Linked DNA regions of Homo sapiens: regions 1, 2, 3, 4 and 6 are each linked to region 5. The links are contacts of gene promoters, found by promoter capture Hi-C in blood cells and fetal thymus (Javierre and others, 2016). All regions are on one chromosome and are shown on one strand. The core of a region is centred on a gene start or on the middle of the fragment in contact, and the rest is flanking DNA. Distances in the headings are between cores, read along the strand shown.

Region 1 (3,817 bases), core at 274-2,773, 1.2 Mb after region 5:
TATAGAAACTGTGTATGATGAAGGGACAGGCACCCCTTCCTTGGGGCAGATGCAGCTCCCTGCTGGTCAAACAGAGGGTGGTCTAGGTTTCAGCCCCACCAGACTCAGAGAGCACCCCTGTGCTGAGCACAGCCTGTACCAGGTGGAAGTATAAACCAGAATTGAATCTTTCCTAAGTGCAATTTAGCAACAAATGTCACAAATAAAACAGCATCTCCTCTGACTCTCAACATTTCTCCTAGGAATTTATCTCTTAGAGAGATTTATCAAGGATCAAAGATGTATAAACAGGAGTGTTCCCTGTATAGTAGGTCATAATAACAAAACCCTGGAAACAACTGTGTATCAGTCAGGGGTTGGTTAATAACCTCATGGTTCATGCATTCAAGAGAATGATATATAGTCAATAAGAAGACAGTATGGAAGTATTTCCACAACATGCTATCTAATCCAATAGTCAGCTTACTAAATCACATATGTAACAACATTTACACTTACATTTCTGTATGTAGAGACAGATACTAAAATATTAACAAAAGTTGGAGCATATTTGCCTCTAAGATTGGGATTTGGGGTGTCTTATATTTTACCCCCTTTATTAATTTTTCTATTATATATTATTTTTGAAACATCAGAGGGTTCTTTATCAAGTCTGTTCTACTTACAAATTCTGCACTCATTTATCCCTACCTGGCCTCAAAGCCCCCAGAGTTTCCTTGAGATCTATTTTGTCTTTGACACAAATCACAGAGCACCCCGTTTGGAGAGGAGTGAGCTGCATCTTGAGGACTCACAGACCCAGAGGTGAAAGTGTAGCCAAGAGTTCAAAACTGTGGACAATTATGGTCAATCAATCATCTCTTCCATATCTACTTGGCAATCAAGTTTTACAGCTACCTGGGTTAATAATAACAAAATATACATAACTTAATAATCTTGTCATTTTGAATTTAGTTTCACGGTAGCAACCTCGACCCTAGATCAAACTTGGAAATTGAAATCAATCAACTCTTTCAAACATTTTTCAATAAAACAGATGTGTATGGACAAGCAGGAAATGCCTATTCATACTGAAACATATTTGAGTCAGAAAATATAATCTCTGTTCCTTGTTTCTAGGCAGTTTTTTCCGAGTACACTTAAAATAGATGATGATTCCCAGTGTAGTAATATGTAACAGAATTTAACATCCATTCATTTAATATTTTATATTAGAAGACTCTCCAAAATAATGTTATAATTTTTCTCATTTTTCTTTTATATTTAGCTAAATTTGCCCTGTGGGTCACTCATCATACCATGTATGAACTTCAATAAGCAAATCCATTTGAGTACCGTCAAACTGAAAGAAAATCCCAGTGTAGTAATATGTAACAGAATTTAACATCCATTCATTTAATATTTTATATTAGAAGACTCTCCAAAATAATGTTATAATTTTTCTCATTTTTCTTTTATATTTAGCTAAATTTCCCCTGTGGGTCACTCATCATACCATGTATGAACTTCAATAAGCAAATCCATTTGAGTACTGTCAAACTGAAAGAAAAAGACTAGTTATTTGTCACACAGTGTCGGTTGTGTAAGATTAATTTTCTGCTGTCTGGGATAGGCATCTGTAATCTTCAGCATAGGCTCCAAGGAGGGCACAAAGATTATTTGTCTGGGTCAGGAATGAGGAGGTTGCTACTAATACTTCAGCCCCAAGAAAATCTGACAGTAGGAGGCCTATATCCTGGCCCATGTTCCTCAGGTCCTTGGAATCTGGTTGGCCAAAGTGTTCCACCTGGTATTTTCCATGCCCTGTCCTGCCTGCCCAGAGAGGCACACACTGCTTTCCCCACCCCAACCCCATCAATAAAAACCCTTTAACTTCAGTGCCTCAGGAAAAAAGAAGAGAAACAGTTCTTGAATGAAAGAGTGGATAGTTTCGTCGAAACTCTCTCCAATGAAACAATTCTTTGAGTGGCAAAAATTATAAAAAATAAAACACGTAAAAATCTCTGGGAATTGTCCTAAAGACACACAGCAAGTAGAAAACTATTTATTTGAGAAAAATGATAAAATATCAGTAAGAACACAAGAGCCCGCATCATCTGAGCCATGACCTGCTCTCATCTCCTCCCCGGTGTTCAGCATAACACAAGCTCTACTCTGGGTGGAGGCTGCCAAGAAGATGGGTGTGCTCTCCCCCAGCTCCAGTCTACAGCTCCAGTTTTACCCCAGCAGGGGCAGGCCTTGGGCCTCTCCCATCCCCTCACCCCCATCTTCTGGTTGCAGAAACTGCATCCCAGGACACCCATCTCCCGGTTGCAGAAGCTCCATCCCAGGAAACTGCATCAAGAGAACTGGGGCTCCCTTCCCCCACCAAGCCCCCACTCGTAGAGTGGATGCTTTACCCCAGGGACTCTAATTGCCACTTCCCTAGCACCCTTATAAGGCAGAAGTTCCACTCATAGAAGGCTACTGACCCCACCCAGTGCCCTGCTAGTAGAGTCAGGGTATCAGCCCAGGAGAACCAGGCCACTGTCTCCACTCCCAGGTCCGGTGCAAGAGAGCAGAGTTTCTTCCCAGTGGAAAGGCAGGTTGTAAGAGCAGAGAGCTCCCTAGCTCACCCTAAGGGGGCCGACTTTATTTGAAATAGAGGACAAAGTCCCAGCTAAGTATTCTCAAAAACAAGAAGGTCCTTAACAATTAAAAGGAGCAACAAGTAAAACATAGATGCCAGGAGCAACAATGATGCCAGGAGCAACAAGAGAAACATAGACCAGCTGGAACACTAACAGAGGAAAAGAGGCAGTTCGGAGGTCTCCCGATGTGGGAGCAAGCCTCAAAGACTGGTAACAGCTGTCCTGCAAACAGCACTGACTTTAATGGGATTTGACTGGAGGAATTTATACCTTAGGGCATTGTTGAGAACAACAGAGAAATCAGCAGGCCACTAGAACAGGCTAAGATCTGTTGTGACACCAATAACAAACCGGACATAAGCTCAACAAGGAGATTAGAGACAGAGAGAGCCAAAGCGATCCCCACTCAGACCACAGTCATCCTGATGGTCAGAGAGACAGTTTCCACACCCAAGATGGCACTCACGGAAGAGCAACATCATAGGCTGCACATTGTCAGGGAAATAGATTTCACTGGAGTCCAGCCAAGACCCTAAACACATGCTAAAGCAAGCAACAACAAACCCTCAGAGGGCAATCAGTAACAGACGTGCTATAATATATTATCAAAAATGTTGGCTTTTCTTTTCTTTTCTTTTTTTTTTCTTTTGAGACAGAGTCTCGCTCTGTTGCCCAAGCTGGAGGGCAGTGGTGTGATCTAGGCTCACTGCAACCTCTGCCTCCTGGGTTCAAGCAATTCCCCCGCCTCAGCCTCCCACGTAGCTGGGACTACAGATGTGTGCCACCACACCTGGCTAATTTTTTTGTATCTTTAGTAGAGACAGGGTTTCACCATTTTGGCAAGGCTGGTCTTGAACTCCTGACCACAAGTGATCTGCCCACCTCGGCCTCCCAAAGTGCTGGGATTACAGGCATGAGCTACCATGCCCAGCCTAAAATGTTGAGTTTTCAACAACAAAATAGTGAGACACTCATAGAATCAGGAACATATCACTGGGACATAAAAAAACAGGCAATGGAAACTGCCTTTATAAGGACTCAGATGGTGCATTTAGCAGACTTCAAAGGAGTTATTATAAATATTATTGACAAAAAGAGTCAAACTCTATAAAATATTTGAAGAGATTTATTCTGAGTCAAATATGAGTGATCAATGGCCTGTGACCACAGCCTTCAGGAGATCCTGA
Region 2 (4,231 bases), core at 898-3,397, 1.2 Mb after region 5:
CCCCCCCCCCGCCCCGCCCAGGCCTTCACAGCTGAGTAGGAAAGGATCTTGGGATGGGTACCAGGGCAGGATCAAGGAAAGCCTGCAACTGCGCTGCCCTTCTCATCATCCATATGTGGTTTGCCCAGATAAAAGCAATATAGTAAGATCTATCAGGCATATTCAACGTGAGTTCTTTTTTCTAGCATCTTGTTGGTTGTTTGTGTTTTTCCCCAGAGAAGAGTGAGTGATGAGGTGGCCCTGGGACATGGTAGATGGTGCAGTTCACTGGGGAGACATCCTTGGCCCCACTCAGGGTCAATATGCGCCCCACACCGCTGGCTGCAACCCCACCCTGTCCTCTTCTGCTCAAAAGAGCATGCAAGGGACATTGCTAAGTGGCAATTTTGGTTGCAACCCAGTGTTCTGTTAATTATTCACAAAAGCTAGCTCTCTTTTTAATTACCAATTGTGTGTGCGTTGCGTGTGCGTCCCTTCCCCCTTCTCTGAGCACACCTGTATGATGAGGCATGTACTTCTTCCTGGTGGAGAAGAACTGCAGAGATGTCTCCCAGGTTGAGCCTGCAGCCTGGCCCGGTCACCAGCACAGCACGGTGACTTGACTGTCCTCCCTGGCTCCCTTCCCCACCCGTGGCAAGTGGCAACTTGCTTTCGCTCACACTGAACGTGGTCAACTTGCCTCCCTGTCACACTGTAGCACTTGAATAGGGCAATATTAGATTATAGCAGAGGTTCTCAGACATTAGAGTGCTTAAAAATCACCTGGGAAGCAGGCCAGGCGCAGAGGCTCACGCCTGTAATCCCAACACTTTGGGATGCCGAGGTGGGCGGATCATGAGGTCAGGAGTTTGACACCAGCCTGGCCAACATAGTGAAACCCTGTCTCTACTAAAAATACAAAAAATTAGCTGGGTGTGGTGGTGTGCGCTGTAGTCCCAGCTACTCAGGAGGCTGAGGCAGGAGAATTGCTTGAACCCAGGAGGCAGACGTTGCAGTGAGTGGAGATCGTGCCATTGCACTCCAGCTGGGGTGACAGAATAAGACTCCGTCTCAAAAAAAAAAAAAAATCACCTAGGAAGCTGTTTAAAATTTACCCTTCTTGTCCGTATGCCCTATTTGCTGGGTCTGAGGTGGGCCCAGAACCCTGCTTTCCAGAAGGGAGCCTGAGGGTGGGGTGCCCTGAAGACCACACTCAGGAAGAACCGGACATGTGAGCTTTCATGAGCCAGAGTCCTGCCAAGAACTAGAATCTGCAGGTGGCTTTGGCCAGTCCCACTTAGAGGCAAGAAGACGTGAGGATAGTAGAGAACCTGGAAATCACGCAGTCCCCAGGATGAAAGTGGAACTCTCGGACCAGATCCTTATTCTCTTACTTTCGTGAGCCATTTCTGCCTACCTGTTGTCAGGGAGGCAGGAGGTTCATTTTTCTCTCACATGGTGCCTGACATAATGACTTGCACGTGATAGATGCTCAACAAGCATATTGAATGAATCAATCAGTTAGATTGTAAATTAAATGCACCAGATGGGCTGGTTGTTTATTTATAACTACACAGTTAACATTTATATTAACATAATGTTAACACCAAAGCGTAATATCTGTTTTCTGTGTTAATTATGGCAAGGTGGGCATAGAGAAGAGATTTCTGAGTGTCTTTTGCAGAGCTTGAAAATGTCTATGTGTTGGTTGAGATAGATCAGCCTTTACTTGATGCACTTTCAATCTTTTAAGTTCTGAAGGCACAGCAAGAGAATTTGGTGTTGAAGGTTTGGATAATGTTTTCAAGTATTTCAATATCCCTCTATTTCTAAACATTAGTAAAAATCATGCCTCATGCTACCATCCTTAGCTTCACTTTGTGTTTCTGAATTGTGTATCTCTATATACTAAGAAGTCCCCCATGTATGCCTGCAAATATGGGAGAGTCAACCGCTCAGCAGAATGTGCACAATGTAAGGCTGTGCCTTGGAGACCAGGCACCCTGTGCAGTGTGATGCACAGGCAGGCCTCAGGATGGCGCCGTGGAGGGCAAGTGATACCTACTGACGAAGCCAGTGGAGTGGATGCAAGGCCAACTCAGGCCCTGCAGCTGGGGTTCTGTTCCTCAGTGTTGAGGCCACAGGTCTGTGTCCACATGTTTTCTTTTGTACAGTGGGATTCTGCCGCACAAGGCAGTGCCCCCAGCCCTTTGCAGATGAGTCAAACATGCTTGTTTGCAGAGCCTGGTGCTGGGTGGGGTGGTCCCATCACATCACCTCTTCCTTGGTCATTTCTCTGTAATTAATCAGCCAGTCCCTGACCAAACCAGCAAGATCAATTCTCCCTCTGGTTGGACTCATTCCTCTTTTTTTTTTTTTTTTTTTTTTGAGATGGAGTCTCGCTCTGTCGCCCAGGCTGGAGTGCAGTGGCATGATTTCTGCTCACTGCAAACTCCGCCTCCCAGGTTCATGCCATTCTCCTGCCTCAGCCTCCCAAGTAGCTGGGACTACAGGCGCCCACCACCACGCCTGGCTAATTTTTTGTATTTTTAGTAGAGACGGGGTTTCACCCTGTTAGCCAGGATGGTCTCAATCTCCTGACCTTGTGATCCACCCGCCTCAGCCTCCCAAAGTGCTGGGATTACAAGCGTGAGCCACCACACCCGGCCTCCTCTTTCTTATGAAAATTAACCCACAGATGAAGTTTCCTTTCACCCAAGTCTTGACAATTTTCTCAGCTTCAAGCTGCAGAGGAAATTCCTAGGCACATCTTAACAGGGCTGCTTTGCATTGAGGGGGCTGTGTGGTTTGAGCGTGATAAGCCTGGATATCTTTCTGCACTATGCTGATTTTTGTTCCCTTAAATGGTATGGATTTGGCAACAATTGTTTGCAGGTGATCTTTTCCCAGAGAACCACTTATTTCCCCCACTGTCTCTGTATGATAGGAGGGCTCTAATGGCCCAGGGATGTGAAAGTGAGACACCTTCAATCGCTAAGGACTGCTGGAAATGTGAACTACAGGAAGTTGAGGGGGCTGGAGGGGAGGAGGCAGCACCTGCCGGAGCCATGCTTCAGTGGGTCTCAAGAAAAGCAGAAGCCTGGAATCTCAGGGCTGAGGCCCCTTGATAACTAGGACAGATGGGTTAATAAAAAGGGATACAGAGACATAGGCTACCTCTTCTGGTTCAATGCCAAGCTAGAAAATCCTGAAATGAACACAGATTTATGAGATAGGAGTAATATATTTAAGAACACAGTCTTACATAGAGATAACTATTTTCCCAAAACATCCAAGGTAAATTTATATATCTTTATGGATGAGGTTGGGTCTTTTCAGGGAAGGTTGGGGAGACGGAAGGGAAATTACTTATTATCAGTCCTCATGATTCATGGATTCCATATCTCCGCATTCATCTATTCATTTAAATCTGTTTGCAACCCCAAAATCAATACTCACAGCACTTTTGCAGTCATTTGTGACGTGCACAAAGCAGTGAAAAATTTAAGTCACCCAACACATACGTTGAGGTCGCACAAGGTGACACTCTGCTTTCTTGTTTTAGCTCTTATAAACACATTTTCTTTTCTCTTGGCCCATTTAGTCCATGGTTTTTGCATTTTTGTGCTTTTCTGGGGTGATTTTGCTATTTAAAAATGGCCCCAAACACAATGCTAAAGTACTTACTGTCTGGTGTCTCTAAGTGCAAGAAGGTTGTGATGTGCTTTACAGAGAAAATACGTGTGTTAGGGAAGCTACTTTCAGGCATGAGTTATTGTGCTGTTGACCATGAGTTCAAGGTTAATGAATCAACAATATATATGAAATAAATATCTTTAAATAGAAATACACATAAAACAAGGTTCTGTATTGATTGATTGACAAAAAAGTTGTAACCAGAGGATCACAAAAACCTAACACCATATTTCCCCAGGAGCAACTGTTCAGGATTTGCAAATTCAGCTTTCATGGTGATTTTATAGAGCATAACTATTGTGAATAACAAGAAGCAACTGTATTTTGTTTCATGCATAAGATGGAAAGAGAACAGAACCAGAAGTATGATATCGATGAAATGGAGAGAGGAGAAAGAAAAGAAAGAAATGACACTATGAAGATTTATTAGTTAAAATGTTACTAGTGATAATAAATTAATCAGAACTTTGGCCTCTGCCTTTGATCCTGGTTCCCATAATCTCTAAGTGCCAGGCTCAGATAATGTGGCCCTTGCAGGGTTTGGGCAGCTAGTCCT
Region 3 (3,600 bases), core at 232-2,731, 1.3 Mb after region 5:
ACCGCTCCCGCACCTGTCGGTGGCTGCCTTTGATCACAGGAGCAATCACAGGAAAATGTATCCAGAGGAATTGATTGTCAGCCACCTCCCTCTGCCAGTCGGGAGAGCCAGGCTTGGATGGAACATGCCCACAACTTGTCACCCAAAGCCTGTCCCAGGACTCACCCTCCACAAAGCAAAGGCAGTCCCGGGAGAAAAGACGGATGGCAGGATCCAAGGGGCTAGCTGGATTTGTTTGTTTTCTTGTCTGTGTGATTTTCATACAGGTTATTTTTACGATCTGTTTCCAAATCCCTTTCATGTCTTTCCACTTCTCTGGGTCCCGGGGTGCATTTGTTACTCATCGGGCCCAGGGACATTGCAGAGTGGCCTAGAGCACTCTCACCCCAAGCGGCCTTTTCCAAATGCCCAAGGATGCCTTAGCATGTGACTCCTGAAGGGAAGGCAAAGGCAGAGGAATTTGGCTGCTTCTACGGCCATGAGACTGATCCCTGGCCACTGAAAAGCTTTCCTGACAATAAAAATGTTTTGAGGCTTTAAAAAGAAAATCAAGTTTGACCAGTGCAGTTTCTAAGCATGTAGCCAGTTAAGGAAAGAAAGAAAGAAAAAAAAAAAAGGCCTGGATACTGCTTTTGCTGTCTCTGTTATGAGATGGAAGACTTACATGTTTGTGATAAAAGGGGACCATGAGAATGAATTGGCTTGGCTTACTTTCCCCCTGAAATCCTCTCTCCTGCAGACTGTCTTGAAGACCTGGTGACTGGTAAATAAAGCCCTGCATGGAGGCTGCACAGCAGGGGCAAGAGGCCCATCCCCCAGCATCTCACTGAGGACAGCTTCAGGCTGCCTTCCTCTGAACGTGGTCCACACCTTCCTCTCCTCCACAGAGAGGGTGCCGCCAGAATCCCCTGTCGCTTTCTGTGTCTGCAATGGGGGGCAGCACAGGGATCAAAGCCATCTAAAGAGTTTCCAAAGAAAGTATTAATTCAGAACAAGCCAAAGACCCTGAGCCTCACCACAAACAGGCCTTTTGGAGTGTGAATTTGAGTTGAAGATACAAGATCGGAGAATGATTTTCTGGTCTTAACTAATCCTCATCTTCATGTTTGATCTTTAAGAAGTCATCACCCATTGATTTCAGTTTTGCTGTACCTCTTGAAAGTTAAAGAGACATCTCAGCACTTTAGGAGGCCGAGGCGGGTGGATCACTTGAGGTAAGGAGTTTGAGACTAGCCTGGCCAATATGGTAAAACCCCATCTCTACTAAAAATACAAAAATTAGCCGGGCATGGTGGCATGTGTCTGTAGTCCCAGCTACTCGGGAGGCTGAGGCAGGAGAATCGCTTGAACCCAGGAAACGGAGGTCGCAGTGAGCCAAGATCATGCCACTGCACTCCAGCTTGGGCATCACAGCGAGACTCTGTCAAAACAAACAAACAAAAAAACAACTTAAAGAGGTAATTTAGCCATCATTCTTATGCCAGCAGATATAAATAAACTTGGACCCATCTGGTCTTCAGCTAAACCTGAGACATTTTAAAGTGCATGGACAGCCATGGACAGCAGGCCCTCCTCTAACAGGGGATGCAAGGCATGGAGAAAGACAATCAGTACCCAAGCTCAGCCACAGAAGACAGGAGTCACTCATATAACTTGTGTTTAGAAGTTTTTGGTAGCCACGCACACTTTCTGAAATCACACTATCTGGTGGTTTAATCATATTTTTAAAGACAGAATCCCTGAGTGCTGAGCAGATTCTCAAAACACATTTAGAATCCCTGAAATTAGAAAGATCAATGACAAAATATCTGTCAGCCAGGCCACAAACAGGTGTAAAATTATGAAAGGAGTGGTTGGATGTGCCAAGTTTGGTAAAGTGGTGACTGCATCTGAGAAAGAGGCTGTGAGGCTGAACTCTTGGTGGCTTCCTTCTGTAACTTCCAGAGGGAGTCTTCAACACAGGCCCCGTGCTCGTAGGAATACGGTAGCACCTATGTAGGAAGTGCGTGGAGTTTTCTGTCTTCTTTCTGTGTGATTTTTGGCCTTTTTATCAGCACTTCTCCCCTCCCAGGAGCCTGGGGATGCCAAACATCCAGAATGTGATGGGACAAGATGGGGGCAGGGGCCTCACCTCCCTGCAGAGGTCCGGCCAGGTCTCCTTGTCCCTGGACAATCTCCTGAGCCTCTCTGCTTGGTGGAGCAGGCACCTGTGTGCAGAATTCCCACTGTGGCCAGCACGAGGAAGTCTTTTCTAGTGAAAATGTGTCTTGTGGTCAGGAATAATTATCCTTTCCCCTGTAGCCACCAAGGAGGGCAAATAGAGAAAGGTAACCTAATTGAAGGATTGGTCATGTGAAAAGGGCTACATTTGGGAAGCTGGGAAAGGCCTCCAGGCTTCTAGAGCAGCTAGCTTGGGCTGGATTCTCATACCCAGGCTGCCCCTTGGATTGTTCTACCCAAGCTTTTCCCTGGGGTCTGGGCTCACTCCATAAGGTAAGGTGCCTTTTACCTTATGGTCCTTCTTTAGCAGGTAACAAAGGAGCATCAGGGGCAGGCTGCCCTGGTGGCATCACACTGGCTAGTGAGGCCGTGAATATCTTGTCCCCCAGCAGGGCCGACAGTTTCTATCACAGAAAACAGTGTGTTCAGTGGTGAAAATCGTTGCATGCATGTTTTCATCTGAGCGTGTCCTTCTCCCATACTCCCTATCAGCCAGCCCTGCCTGTAGCTGCTGTATGGTGATTGCACTTGGACATCAGTCCAATGACTGCAAGTCGGCCTGGATTTTCACTTGCAGAGGCTACAGCTGCATTGTCAGGTCTCCCAGCCCTGCAGAGAGCTCCCTCCACTGGTTAGCAGTGTGTTGTGTTTTCCATTCATTTCAGAAGAGCTACATTGTGTCACTGGACATTTTTAAAAACTGTGATTTTTAATAAAAATTTAAAATTTGCTTTGTGATGATTTTCATGGAAGTTATTAGGATGTGGTAAGTCACACTGTCAAATAGTGTCAAGCAGCATTGTCAAAGGGGTAGCTAAATGTTTTCTAAAACATTAAGTCCCTGCCATGTCCCAAAAAAGTGAATGTGTTGGCCGGGTGCAGTGGCTCATGCCTGTAATCCCAGCAGTTTGGGAGCCCAAGGCAGGAGGATCTCTTGAGCCCAGAGTTTGAGACCAGCCTGGACAACATAGTAAGACTTTAGCTCTGCAGAAATCAAAACATTAGCCGGGTGTGGTGGTATGCACCTGTAGTCCCAGCTACTTGGGAGGCTGGGGCAGGAAGATTGCTTGAGCCTGGGAGGTCGAGGCTGAAATGAGCTGTGATGGCACCACTGCACTCCCAGCTGGGTGACAGAGCAAGATCCTATCTCAAAAAAAAAAGTGGATGTGCACAGGTCAAAGTTGACTGTGAGATTCCACCACACAGAACGGCGGGGAGGCCCATCAGGGAGGGCCCTGTCCTGCCCTGCCTCTATCTTTTATTCATGAGCAGAGCATCTACCCAGCCAGGGCCTGACAGCCCATGGCCTGCCTAATAAAAGACAGACTGAGGAGACCCAGAAATCCCCCATCAGGCCAAAGCAGGGCTGTGGGTTTTGAG
Region 4 (3,816 bases), core at 192-2,691, 1.1 Mb after region 5:
AACACTATACAAAGGATTTTTATCGTTGTTGTTGCTGTTTTGGTAATGCAAAGCCAGAAGAGAGAGAACAGTGTCATTGTGGAGCACACACTGGTATAAAGATGCCAAATTCTAAGGGATTTGCAGCACATGCATGGGGGCCATGTTGACATTGGGAGCAACAGTTGAGCTTTCTGCTACTGGATGGGGCGTGGTCCCAAGAGCAGAGAGGAAGGGCTGGGGACCCTGTCGAGGAGCATGTCTGGCTGGGCATCCCATGGAGGGCTGCTCTGTGTGCTCCCTGAGCATCATCAGCACAGCAGCCTGCACCCTCTTTCTCAAAGTTCCTCTCTTTGTACCAGAGCCTGCCCACACACCGTTGCTTAAGAGGGGAACATAATTCCGGTTGCCATCAACTGTATTAATTGCTTACCATCTTTTCTCTAATCACCTATATCACAAAATCATCATGCATGCCATTAAGAGGAAGTCCTATTTATCAGTCTACAAGCATTTATTGAGGTCCCTCGCCCCTTAGGAGCTGACAGCAGATGACAGCTGACAATGATGACAGTTGTAATCATTGGCTTTCCAAGACTGCAACCCTCAAACTGGTTCTGAGGTCATCAGCTTCAACAGTTTCTGGTTCACATGGTAGGACTCTATATTCATCATTTTGTAGAAAGAACTAAATGACGAGAACATATGGACACATAGAGGGGAACAACACATACTGGGGCCTTTCAAAAGGTGGAGGCTGGAGGGTGGATGGTGGAGGGTGGACGGAGGGAGAAGATCAGGAAAAATAACTAATGGGTACTAGGCTTAATACCTGGTTGATAAAATGTAATCTGTATAACAAACTCCCATGACACAAGTTTACCTATGTAACAAACCTGTACTTGTACCCCTGAACTTAAAGGTTAAAAAGAGAGAGAACTTTTGCAAAATATCCTTTGTCACCAACATAAGTCCCAAGTGTAAAAGCTTCTCTTTGTGGAATCAGTGGCTAATTTTCATCCATAAAGGTGGCATTTGTCCTTTCTACTCCATCACATCTGACGTCAGTTCAGTGCAACTTTTTAAAAAGATATGCATTCTATATTTAGTTCCAGAAAAGATTCAAGCGGAGTCAAATGACTGTATACAATGCAGTAAGAAAATGTAAAATTAATGAGAGAGATAAGAGAGAATGAGGGTACCAAGTAAAGAATGTAGTAAGAAGTTTGTGGGAAGGGGGTGCTTTCTTTCACTGCAGTGAAACTCACATAATATAACATTTACCGACTCAACTATTTTTAGTGTACCACTGAGTATTAAGAACATTCATAGTGTTGTGCAATTATCACTACCATCCATTTCCTCAACTTCTTCCTCTTGCAAAACTGAAACTCTGTGCTCATTAAACACTAACTACACTAACTCCCTATTCTCCACCCCTCAGTCCCTGGCAGCCATCATCCTACTTTCTGTCTCTAAGAATTTGACTACTCTAGCCACCTCATATAAGTGGAATCTCATAATATTTGCCCTTTCATGACTGGTTTATTTCACTTAGCATAATGGCCTCGGGGCCCATCTGTTTTGTAATGGATCAGAATTTCATCCCTTTTTAAGGTTGAAAAGCATTCCGTCATAGGAAAATACCAGAGATATATAAATGTATCTCTTTTACATGACATACTTTAACCTCTGTGTTCATATAAGTTTCACAAAACACGATCTATGTCATTGTGGAACGTCCGAAATCATGGCTAGGGTAGGAGGTCATGATAGTTGCGAATAGAATTATTGTAAATCCTTTCACAAATAACTGAACTCAACTCACTGATTGTTTTGCTGCCCCCATCCCCGCCGCGCGCACACACACACACACACACACGCACACTTTTATTTTTTCCTTTCCAACTTTAAATTATTCTCGTTTCTCACTATCTAAAAGCTTGGTGTCCCTTCTGGGTTGAAAGTGTTATTATAATTGCTGCTTTTCTGCTGCAGCCATCTCTTAAAAGATTTAAATTAAATGAAAGTATTTCTGACAACTTATAAAATGTGAAACTCAATGTAGAGCTCTGATTACATTTTCTGACAGTGAAGGTTTCTTGGAACGTTATCCATTTAACAGCTATCTAGTGAGTGCCTTGTCCACATCAGGCACTGTTCTTGGGGCTGGGGATTCAGCAAGGAACAGAGACTCTGCCTCAGCCTTTCCAGGCTTACATGCATTTGTGTTCCAGAGGTGAAGACCGACAATAAAATACCAGTAAACAAATGGAATAATTGCAAGTTATGGTATGTGTTAGAAAGAAACAATGCAGGACTGATGTAGAAAGTCTCCACAGTGAGTGGTGTGCTGAGGTGGTCAGGAAAAGGGCACTCCAAAGATAGACAGGACATTGAAACTGAGATGGAAAGCTATCGAAGAAGCTGGTGATGCAGAGAGATCCACACAGACGGAGGAGCATGTGTGAGGTCCCTGAGCTGGCAAAGAGCGTATGATGGTCAAGGAGCTACGAGCCAACATTGAATCTGGAGAATGATGATCTGGGAGGAAGGTAGCACAGAGGCTCTGGGGAGGGAGAGCCTCAGAGATCATAATGAAAAGTGAAGTTTATTCCATGTTTGCTGAGAAGCACTCAGGAGTGGGTTGTTTTGCTTGTTTGTTTTATTTGTTTGTTTTTGAGACGGGGTCTCGCTCTGTCGCCCAGGCTGGAGTGCAGTAGCGCGATCTTGACTCACTGCAAGCTCCGCCTCCCGGGTTCACGCCGTTCTCCTGCCTCAGCCTTCCGGCGCTCCGGAGTGTTTCAAGCAGGATATCACCTGAATTGTACTTGAAAAGAAGCTTTCTTGCAGCTTGGTGGCGCTTGGATTGAAGAGTAGCAAGTGTGGAATGTGGCCACTAATGAGCGGGCTGGAGCTTAGCACAGGTGCTCCTGATGCGGGCTCAGCTAGGGGCCCTAGAGCCAGAAGAGGCAGCTGATTCAATCTTCTATGGGAAATGCACTTGAGGGTCCTTATTCACCTGTTAGGGATAAGCAGTAACACCAGGTGTTTGGCTTGAAAACTGAGAGCATGGTGGTGCCCTTTGCTGAGATTCCTCATCTCAGTATGAGACAAGGGCATTTGGGGGTGAAACTCAAGGGTTCTGTGTTGAAGAGTTAGAAATGAGCTATCTGCAAAAACCCAATGGAGGTGTAAAGCTTGTTTGTACTGTATGCTAGTGTGGCTTCCAGTGGAGAGCTCAGAGCTACAGATACAATTTTAGAGTCATTAACATAAGGGTGGTATTTGAATTCATGAAGATTACCACAGAATAGAGAACAGAGAAGATCAAACTCCGGCTCTGAGGAGCTTCACCATGGAGAGGTCAGGTAGAGAAGAAGACAGGGTGCTGCAGACAGGGAGCCGAGGGCTGGGAGCTGAACTATGGACCCGGGGAAGGCCGGTTCCACGGCAGTGGGGAAAAGCCACATTAAACCTTCTGATCAGTGAATAGAGGCAAGAGAGTGGAGATGGTGGGAATGGGCAGGGTTTTGAGAATTCTGCTTTTAAAGAAGATTGGAGCTATAAGGTAGTAGCTGGAAGAGGAAAGTAGATGCAGGACTTTCTTTTTGATTGAGAGGTAATACAGCATGTTGATAAACAGTGCACTGATGAGAATGTTTACTGGAAGTGGTCACTTTTGTGTTAGAATATTTGCAGCACAGTTACCCTCTTGGCAAAAATCAACCAGCACAGCCAACTGCCTCTTCTGGCAGTAGTAGATCCAAAATATTAAAATACACCATCTGCACAGAAAAGATGGTAGATCAATAAAACTTGAGAGATTAATTCATG
Region 5 (4,151 bases), core at 250-2,749:
TGGTCAAACGGCAGCAACCTCTAGCCTATTAAACTCTCCCAAGATCTCTTCCAGACTTATTCCATTGCCGGAAAAAAGGCTTTTTACATATGCGCATTTAAGTAATTAAGATATTTCAACATGGTATAAGACGTAGGGGCTCTTACTCCATCAGTACTGGATGGGAATTTCCTTTTGCCCTCTACTCCCCAGGGTAACTGCAGTCCCACCTGAATGCGTTTTGCAGCCCTTACTCGGGTTCTATTTATGCGCAGCTTGGACAGGGCTCACTGGGCCCGGCCGGGCAGCTCCGTGGCCGTCCCTCTCCACCGCCCTTCCCCCGCGCCAGGCCAATGCAAGGGTGTGTGTGTTGGGGGGAGGGGAGGACAAAAGGGGTTCAGGATCTTTTTAACCTGCCTGCAGATGGCGCCCCGGGAAAGATTCCGAGCTGCATTACCTAAGCTCCAGGGGCTGCAGCCGCGGGGTCCCGGCCACAGGGCGTCCAGCCGCGAAGACTGCACAGCAGCTCTCCGTCCTTCCCAACTCGCGCGGCTGTTCGGCACCCGTGCGAGGAACGGATGGAAGGGAATTACTTGTAGCAGGGCCAGTACTGGGGGCGTGCACTCAGGGACCACGGAGTGGCACTCAGCCTCGACCCCACGCGCCAGGCAGCCCGGCGACCCCCACGCGCGGCGGGGTCCTGCCCACCCCACCCGGCGGCAGGTGGACAGTGTTGCTATGAAGAGAAAGCCTCGATTGTCCCTACAGCAAACCGCCACACGCCAGACCTCTGCTATTGTGCGCCCTCCATAGAAATGCAAACGAGCGGCGTGCGCCGGCCGCAATCTGCTCGTCCCCGCCCGCCCCCGTCTCCCGCGCCCCGCCGCGCTCGGCCAAGGGCGGGGAGGTGGGGTGGGATCTTCCAGAGACGGCTCAATGTACACATTGAGTATGCCTGGCAGGCATCACCAGCGCGCTCGGGACGCTAGTGGTCAGCTGCAGGGGGCTGTGCCCACTGCCTTTTGCAAGCCTCTAACTGGCGCTACCTGTTTTTACCTTAATTTCTGGCTCCAATGCAACAGTCTCATAGACTTCAAATTAAAGAAAAGAAACAAATAGAAAGGTAGCAATACAAAATGCAAAAAAAAATCCCTTTGCTTCTATAAAGGTGCTTTTCGCAAATTGCAGCATCATATAAGCAAACAAGGTTTTTGTGGGTTGGGTTTTTTCTTTTTTTTTTTTTTTTACTTTTTCCTTTTAAGGACTTCAAAAAAAAAAAAAAGCCAGGCGAGATGAAATCTGCAGGCTCCAGTCTGCCTGGTAACACCCCAACAAAAGCGGCAGATTTGAGGCATTGTCATCCCCCGCACCCCTCCCCACGTGGCCTTCTGGCACGAGCCGCTGGCTCGCCGCCTCATTTACATCAGAAAGCGGGTGCCGGCCAATAGGCGCGCAGCCTCGCGCCAGCTGGCGGCGCCGCACCCACCAGCCTATATAAGGGCGCGCAGCGTAGTAGGGGCGCACTCGCTGGTGGTGGGCGCGCCGTGCTGAGCTCTGGCTGTCAGTGTGTTCGCCCGCGTCCCCTCCGCGCTCTCCGCTTGTGGATAACTAGCTGCTGGTTGATCGCACTATGACTCTGGAAGAAGTCCGCGGCCAGGACACAGTTCCGGAAAGCACAGCCAGGTGGGTTTCAGGGCGCTGAGAAAGCCGCTGGTCGGTCGGCGACCGTCAGGGTTTTCCAGGGTGGGAATCCGCGGGGTAGGAGGGGAGCGCGGGGGTCCGGGCGCCAGATCCCGGTTGGAGAGCCGGGGTGCAGGCGCTGAGCCGGGATTGGAGTGTGGTTGGAGTTGGGGAGCCAAGGGTGTGTGCCGGTGGCCGGGGCTGGGGTCTCCGCCGCGCCCTCCGGCCGGCTCCCGCTCACTGCGCTGGCTCCTCCGCAGGATGCAGGGTGCCGGGAAAGCGCTGCATGAGTTGCTGCTGTCGGCGCAGCGTCAGGGCTGCCTCACTGCCGGCGTCTACGAGTCAGCCAAAGTCTTGAACGTGTAAGTGTAGACGCGGCCCAGGCTGGGAGACAGGGGCGGGGGTGAATGGCGAGGAGACTGGCGGATGGGAGGGGTGGCGGCGGGAGAACTCGGCTAGCCGGTTCTGACCTAGGTCCCCGCCTTGCCCTCGCAGGGACCCCGACAATGTGACCTTCTGTGTGCTGGCTGCGGGTGAGGAGGACGAGGGCGACATCGCGCTGCAGATCCATTTTACGCTGATCCAGGCTTTCTGCTGCGAGAACGACATCGACATAGTGCGCGTGGGCGATGTGCAGCGGCTGGCGGCTATCGTGGGCGCCGGCGAGGAGGCGGGTGCGCCGGGCGACCTGCACTGCATCCTCATTTCGGTGAGTACAGTCCCGTCCTGTCCCCGCCCCAGTGTCGTTCCCGCCTCGGCCCGCGGCCAGCCAGGCTGACCCTGCTCTCTCTCCGCAGAACCCCAACGAGGACGCCTGGAAGGATCCCGCCTTGGAGAAGCTCAGCCTGTTTTGCGAGGAGAGCCGCAGCGTTAACGACTGGGTGCCCAGCATCACCCTCCCCGAGTGACAGCCCGGCGGGGACCTTGGTCTGATCGACGTGGTGACGCCCCGGGGCGCCTAGAGCGCGGCTGGCTCTGTGGAGGGGCCCTCCGAGGGTGCCCGAGTGCGGCGTGGAGACTGGCAGGCGGGGGGGGCGCCTGGAGAGCGAGGAGGCGCGGCCTCCCGAGGAGGGGCCCGGTGGCGGCAGGGCCAGGCTGGTCCGAGCTGAGGACTCTGCAAGTGTCTGGAGCGGCTGCTCGCCCAGGAAGGCCTAGGCTAGGACGTTGGCCTCAGGGCCAGGAAGGACAGACTGGCCGGGCAGGCGTGACTCAGCAGCCTGCGCTCGGCAGGAAGGAGCGGCGCCCTGGACTTGGTACAGTTGCAGGAGCGTGAAGGACTTAGCCGACTGCGCTGCTTTTTCAAAACGGATCCGGGCAATGCTTCGTTTTCTAAAGGATGCTGCTGTTGAAGCTTTGAATTTTACAATAAACTTTTTGAAACAAACTTATGCTCTTTATTGAGGGTAGGGGATCTTTGTGTCGGGGGAGGTGGCGTGCAGGGTTTCAGAGGATTGCTGGAACTCCGTGGAACTGATGGCACCTGTTCCGTCTTCCTGTCGGGCAAGAATGACAGGCTCCTCCCCTCTGGCAGAGGGAGGGCATGCTGCCCAGTGCTAGGGTAGAACTTGAGCCTGGCTCCTACTTTTCTCCTTTTAGGAAGATTTTAAACTTGCAAAACAGGAGCATACTTGAGATAAGACAGTGCAGCAGCTGAAGTCTTGCCTTCCAAGGCGATAACAGTGACCTGTGCCTCCCCTCCCCCTCCTCGGCCCTCCTCCCCCTCCCTCCTACAGCTGCTTATCTGAACAGCTTGCAGGAGGCCTCAGGCTTTCCTGCACAATGAGCATTGCCTTCTGCAGGCCCTGCCCTTTGTGGTCCCTGAGGATGGTGGCAGACTGCTCCTGCTCTTGGGGACTTTTTCCTCTTAAATGCTCTGACACAAAGCAATGCTACAAAGGTACTAATACCAAATATGACATTGATGACTGCATTTAAGTATGAGTCATTACTTTGTCATGGCTGTGATAGAACTTGGAAGATCTGAGAAAAAATTGGAAGGCAGCATCTATATAAATAGGCATGAGCAATTCTGAGGGGGCCTGGCATCTGCTATCTACTATTTTCAGTGTTCTCTGCCCACATCAGAGTTACGAGGATTGCTGCTATTCACAATTCCGTTTAAAGACTCATAGGAAAAAAAAATTAAATATTTTAAGCCAAGACTTTCTTTAAAAAGGAACTAGGGGGAAATGTCCTGATCGAATCAATCTTTTTTATGAGACCAATATGCCTTGAGTTCGTTCTGTGTCTAACTAGCTGCTTTCAGCAGGGGAAATACATGTGGGACCCTTGTGCTGTCAGCTAGACTGCCAAGCAGGCTGAGCCTTCTGGGCAAAGGAGGCATGATGTGCTGTCTTCAGTGCTTGGGGTGGCTGATTTACCTCATTGAGTGCCACGTCCTAAAATTCCGTCCAAATTACGGGAGGATTCTTGAGGCAACAGGAAAACTGTACTGAATTACTCTTCTTGTAATGAAAGCGTCCTTGTTTTCC
Region 6 (3,777 bases), core at 891-3,390, 1.2 Mb after region 5:
TTCACTCAGGAAAGGTTTCAAGAATGAGCTGGTGGTAGAAAAAAATGGCTTTTATTGGGGCAACAGTGTTACAGCTCTGTGACTGCCTCTGCAGAACCAGGATACCTCAAAGGCCGTGTGTTTGAGTAGCAGTTCAGAGGCAGTTCTCCAGTTATATTTATACATACTTTTAATTACATGCAAATTAAGGGGTGGGTTACTCAGAAATTTCTAGAACAGAAGTGGTAACTTCCAGGTGTTGGCACGGCAGTCGTAAACCATCATGGTGCTGGTAGGCATGCCTCTTCCCTGTTTCAACCAGTCTTCAATCTGGCCCGAAGTGAAATCCCACCTGCCACCTCACCTCCAGTGGTGTCTGCAGTGACATTTTGTTCCCTCTTTCAAAATCGTTTTCAATGGGGTCTCTTGTGGGTGGGGCATTAAGCACAAGTGCTCAGCCAACTGCACTGAACCAGAAATTCTGCATCTGTGCTGACCAGAGATGCTTTCTGGAAAACCAAGTGTATAAACCATGGGGACCATGGGACACATGTCACGCTGCTCTCTCACACCTTCATGTATGTCCTTTAGTGTTGCGCAGCAGCAGCCTCTAAGGGAAGCAGCCCTGAGATGTACTTTTAAAACATTTTTACTATTTCATTTGATTTTTTACAACTATGAGTCACAGATGTTTTACTGGGGAAAAAAATATGTAGAAGACATGGCTGGATGTGTGTTATGAGAAAGAGGTCAAGTGCAAATGAGAAAAAGAGGAACTCATGAACCTCTTCTGCCTTTTGGTGAGTGGCCAGTCATTTGAAACTGTGAAGCAGAAGGTAGTGAGGGGCAGTTGTTCCTGTGGGTGCCAAGGGGAAACTTCCTCTTTGCCCTTGGAAGGGTCACTGAAAATCAACTGACAAGAGACAGATTAATTGGAGAAAAGGCACACATATTTATTAATGTGCACAGGAATCTTACAAAGATCTCCAAGAAATGGTAAGGAGGTTGAGACTTTTACACTATCTTTTTAAAGGCTTTTGATATAGGGTCTCACTCTCTTGCCCAGGCTGTAGTGCAATGGCAGGATCATGGTTACTGTAGCCTCAAACTCCTGGGCTCAAGCAGTCCTTCAAGCAATCCCGCCTCAGCCTCCTGAGTAGCTGGAACTGTAGGCCTGTGCCACCATGGCTGGCTAATTCTTTTCACTTTTTGTAGAGATGGGGGTCTCGCTATGTTGCCTTGAACTTGAACTCCTGGCCTCAAGTGATCCTCCTGCCTTGGCCTCCCAAAGTGCTGGGATTATAGGCAGGAGTCACCACATCCAGCCTATACACAGCTTAAGGTTACAGAAAAAATGTGGGCTTGGAGTACGGCCAAAAACTGGTTGCGGTGGTAAATCAGGTTATGATGTCAAGGCAGGTTATGGGAGGAAGAGAAGAGGAGGTCTGGCTTGCAAATGTGGTCTTATTATACAGGTGAAACCTTACAGGTAGCAGTCCTCAGAGAGAATAGATGGTAAATGTTTATTTCAGAAATTTAAGGTGTCAGACTCTGTTAATCTTTTCTTGATCTGGACAAGGGTTAGCCTCAGAGAAAACCTGGCTGCACCATGCTGATTCTGTACAGATGCAAATCTCCCCGCAAAGGACAGCTTTGCAAGGCTACCTCTGTTTGCAGGCCCTCTGAACAGCCACCTCAAAATATGTCAAAGAAGGATATTTGGAGGTGAAATATTTTGGTTTCCTCCATTACAAATCTGGATCTGACACAAGATAGTACCATTTACTCAATGTATAGCTTGGGCCAAGTTGTTTGAATTCTCTGTCCCTCAGTTTATCTGTAAAATGAAGAAAATAATAGCACATACTTCACAGAGTTTTATGACAATCTAATTAATATAAGCAAAGCACTTCTAATAATGCCTGGCACATTGTAAATAACCAACCTGTTATTAGAAGACAGAATCCATGGATTTACTGTTAGTATAAACAATGTGCTCTCTGCTACACAGAAAAGCAGTCTCCAAGGGGAGCATCCATTTTCCATTTGGAATTCAAGCAGAAGCAGCGTCCCTGAGCCAGGAAGGTGGGCCACAAAGAAGAGAAGGTAGATCCATGTGTGCAGGGTGGGGCCATGGCTGTAGCAGCAATGCCCATTCCTGGCCACAAGCACAGATGAAGGTGCTACCAGGATCCAGAACCAGGCACTGAAGAGGGAAGTGGGCAAGCCATGTAAGTGATCACAAAGCACTTAGGTCACGAGAAGAGGCGACCCAGACCCCACTCCCCTAACCATCATGACAAGAAGGAAGAACCAGCTCCCTGCCAAGGGGAGCTTTTTAATTAGTATGTTCATTTAACTGATGCCAGCTCTCATTTCAGAATGTAAATTCAGTCTTTCCCAAAAAATCCTTGGATATCTTCAGGAAGTCCCAAGTTACTGTTAAATGTGGACACTTTCATCCCTTCTACCTTGGCTTTTTCAGAAGCAGACGCAGATTTGAGATCCCAGTAGAAAGAATTTATTTGGCAGGTGCAAGGTACCCCAGCAAGGGAGCAGGGACATGGGACCAGGAGGGGAAGGTGAGACCAGGAAGGGAAGGCAGCGCATTTGTGAGCCGCTGGAGCACAAGGAAACTGCAGAAAAATCTGTGCTTCTTCCTGAAGGATGAGGGAGCTGGGACATTCAGACACCGGCCTGTCAGTCATTGGTGGAGGGCTGCCAGGGCTATTAATTCCCTAGCACTCAAACCACCCTGGACATGGGCAGAGAGGCCTCCTGAGGCTTAGGAGAATGTCCTCAGGCAAAGAAGAAGTTGCAACTCAGATAGAACCCCCCAGGCCAGAGGGGTGTGAGTGAGTCACCAACAGTTCCTGTTACATTTACATTTAGGGAGAAGATTCTGGAACCCAACATAGATAGATCAAGGTAAAGAGCATCCCTCCCAGAAGGTTGCCAGGATGCTCTAGAGCTCATGAGATTTGCTCTTGCTGACACTGAGAAGCAGGAAGGAGTAGGAATGGAGAGTGCAGACTTTGAAATCCGCCCATCCGGGGCTGCTTCCCTGCTCTGCTCTCATAGCTCTGTGATCTTGCGCAAGTTCCGTAGCACCTCTGGGTGAGTTTTCCCATCTGTAAAACGGGGATGATGATAATACCTGTAGGGCTGTTGTGAGGACATAACACAGTCATACAGATAAAGCACTTAAAAAGCACCCAGCCCTTAAGCGCTCAAACATTTGTATTCTACATCTTTTGTCAATTGCCTTTGTTTAGAAATGCTCTGGCATGTTGGGTGCTCAAAAGATGTTGACAGTAATTTATTCACTACGACACACCAAGAATTAATGAAATATTGCTAAGAAAATAAAAACTAGTGTTCATCACATCCTGCGATGTGATGTCTCTTCAGAGAACCAGGCGAGGGTATGTGGCCAATGAACAGCCAATGAAGTCACTGTCAGAGTGGCTTTGTCACCCAAGGAGCCCCTACTAGTTTATTAGGGCAATCTGACTTTCAGATCTGAATCCTAGCAGTGTATGGATATAAAAGATACCAAGTCTAAAAATAATAATTATAAAGATCTTAAAAACAACCTGTGACACTCACAAATCCGTTTGACTGGTAATTTTTGAGACATTGGACCATATCTAATACTTGGCAACAGGGCACCACTGTGCTATCATGAAGCATCATCATCAGTTCCAGCGAAGGTGAAATGGTTTCTATTATAGGCATGTTAATAACTTCTATTAATAGAGGCGAGGAAAAGCACAAAACCTTTATCTCTTCTTTTCA

Evidence for each region. Contacts are between HindIII fragments. The CHiCAGO score rates a contact against its expected background, and 5 or more counts as called.
Region 1: a contact is called between a fragment that was not itself captured here and the fragment with the promoter of GADD45G in region 5, in 1 of 17 cell types (neutrophils). The highest score is 9.4, in neutrophils.
Region 2: a contact is called between a fragment that was not itself captured here and the fragment with the promoter of GADD45G in region 5, in 7 of 17 cell types (monocytes, megakaryocytes, fetal thymus and 4 more). The highest score is 10.8, in monocytes.
Region 3: a contact is called between a fragment that was not itself captured here and the fragment with the promoter of GADD45G in region 5, in 1 of 17 cell types (endothelial precursors). The highest score is 8.3, in endothelial precursors.
Region 4: a contact is called between a fragment that was not itself captured here and the fragment with the promoter of GADD45G in region 5, in 1 of 17 cell types (monocytes). The highest score is 7.0, in monocytes.
Region 6: a contact is called between a fragment that was not itself captured here and the fragment with the promoter of GADD45G in region 5, in 8 of 17 cell types (neutrophils, total B cells, naive B cells and 5 more). The highest score is 12.4, in neutrophils.

Annotation. Positions count from the first base shown.
Region 1 is chr9:90,787,173-90,790,989 of GRCh38, forward strand. No RefSeq gene overlaps it. Among named protein-coding and RNA genes, the nearest start is that of SYK, 13 kb to the right of the region's middle. The HindIII fragment of the contact is 4,892 bases long and covers 1-3,817 here.
Region 2 is chr9:90,828,237-90,832,467 of GRCh38, forward strand. All of the region lies in intron 1 of SYK (spleen associated tyrosine kinase), which reads left to right. Among named protein-coding and RNA genes, the nearest start is that of SYK, 29 kb to the left of the region's middle. RefSeq lists an enhancer at 2,697-2,766. The HindIII fragment of the contact is 8,521 bases long and covers 1-4,231 here.
Region 3 is chr9:90,895,600-90,899,199 of GRCh38, forward strand. It overlaps SYK (spleen associated tyrosine kinase), which reads left to right. Exons shown (of 14, transcript NM_003177.7): 14 at 1-2,950. The coding sequence ends at 1. Among named protein-coding and RNA genes, the nearest start is that of SYK, 96 kb to the left of the region's middle. The HindIII fragment of the contact is 1,955 bases long and covers 505-2,459 here.
Region 4 is chr9:90,697,686-90,701,501 of GRCh38, forward strand. No RefSeq gene overlaps it. Among named protein-coding and RNA genes, the nearest start is that of DIRAS2, 57 kb to the left of the region's middle. The HindIII fragment of the contact is 955 bases long and covers 965-1,919 here.
Region 5 is chr9:89,603,513-89,607,663 of GRCh38, forward strand. It overlaps GADD45G (growth arrest and DNA damage inducible gamma), which reads left to right and starts at 1,500. Exons shown (of 4, transcript NM_006705.4): 1 at 1,500-1,662; 2 at 1,920-2,021; 3 at 2,155-2,368; 4 at 2,457-3,043. The coding sequence starts at 1,610. The coding sequence ends at 2,567. LOC105376139 (a long non-coding RNA gene) reads right to left here and starts at 1,504. Exons shown (of 2, transcript XR_930105.3): 1 at 1-1,504. RefSeq lists an enhancer at 311-1,209 and a silencer at 820-869. The HindIII fragment of the contact is 4,421 bases long and covers 1-3,008 here.
Region 6 is chr9:90,769,768-90,773,544 of GRCh38, forward strand. No RefSeq gene overlaps it. Among named protein-coding and RNA genes, the nearest start is that of SYK, 30 kb to the right of the region's middle. The HindIII fragment of the contact is 6,012 bases long and covers 1-3,777 here.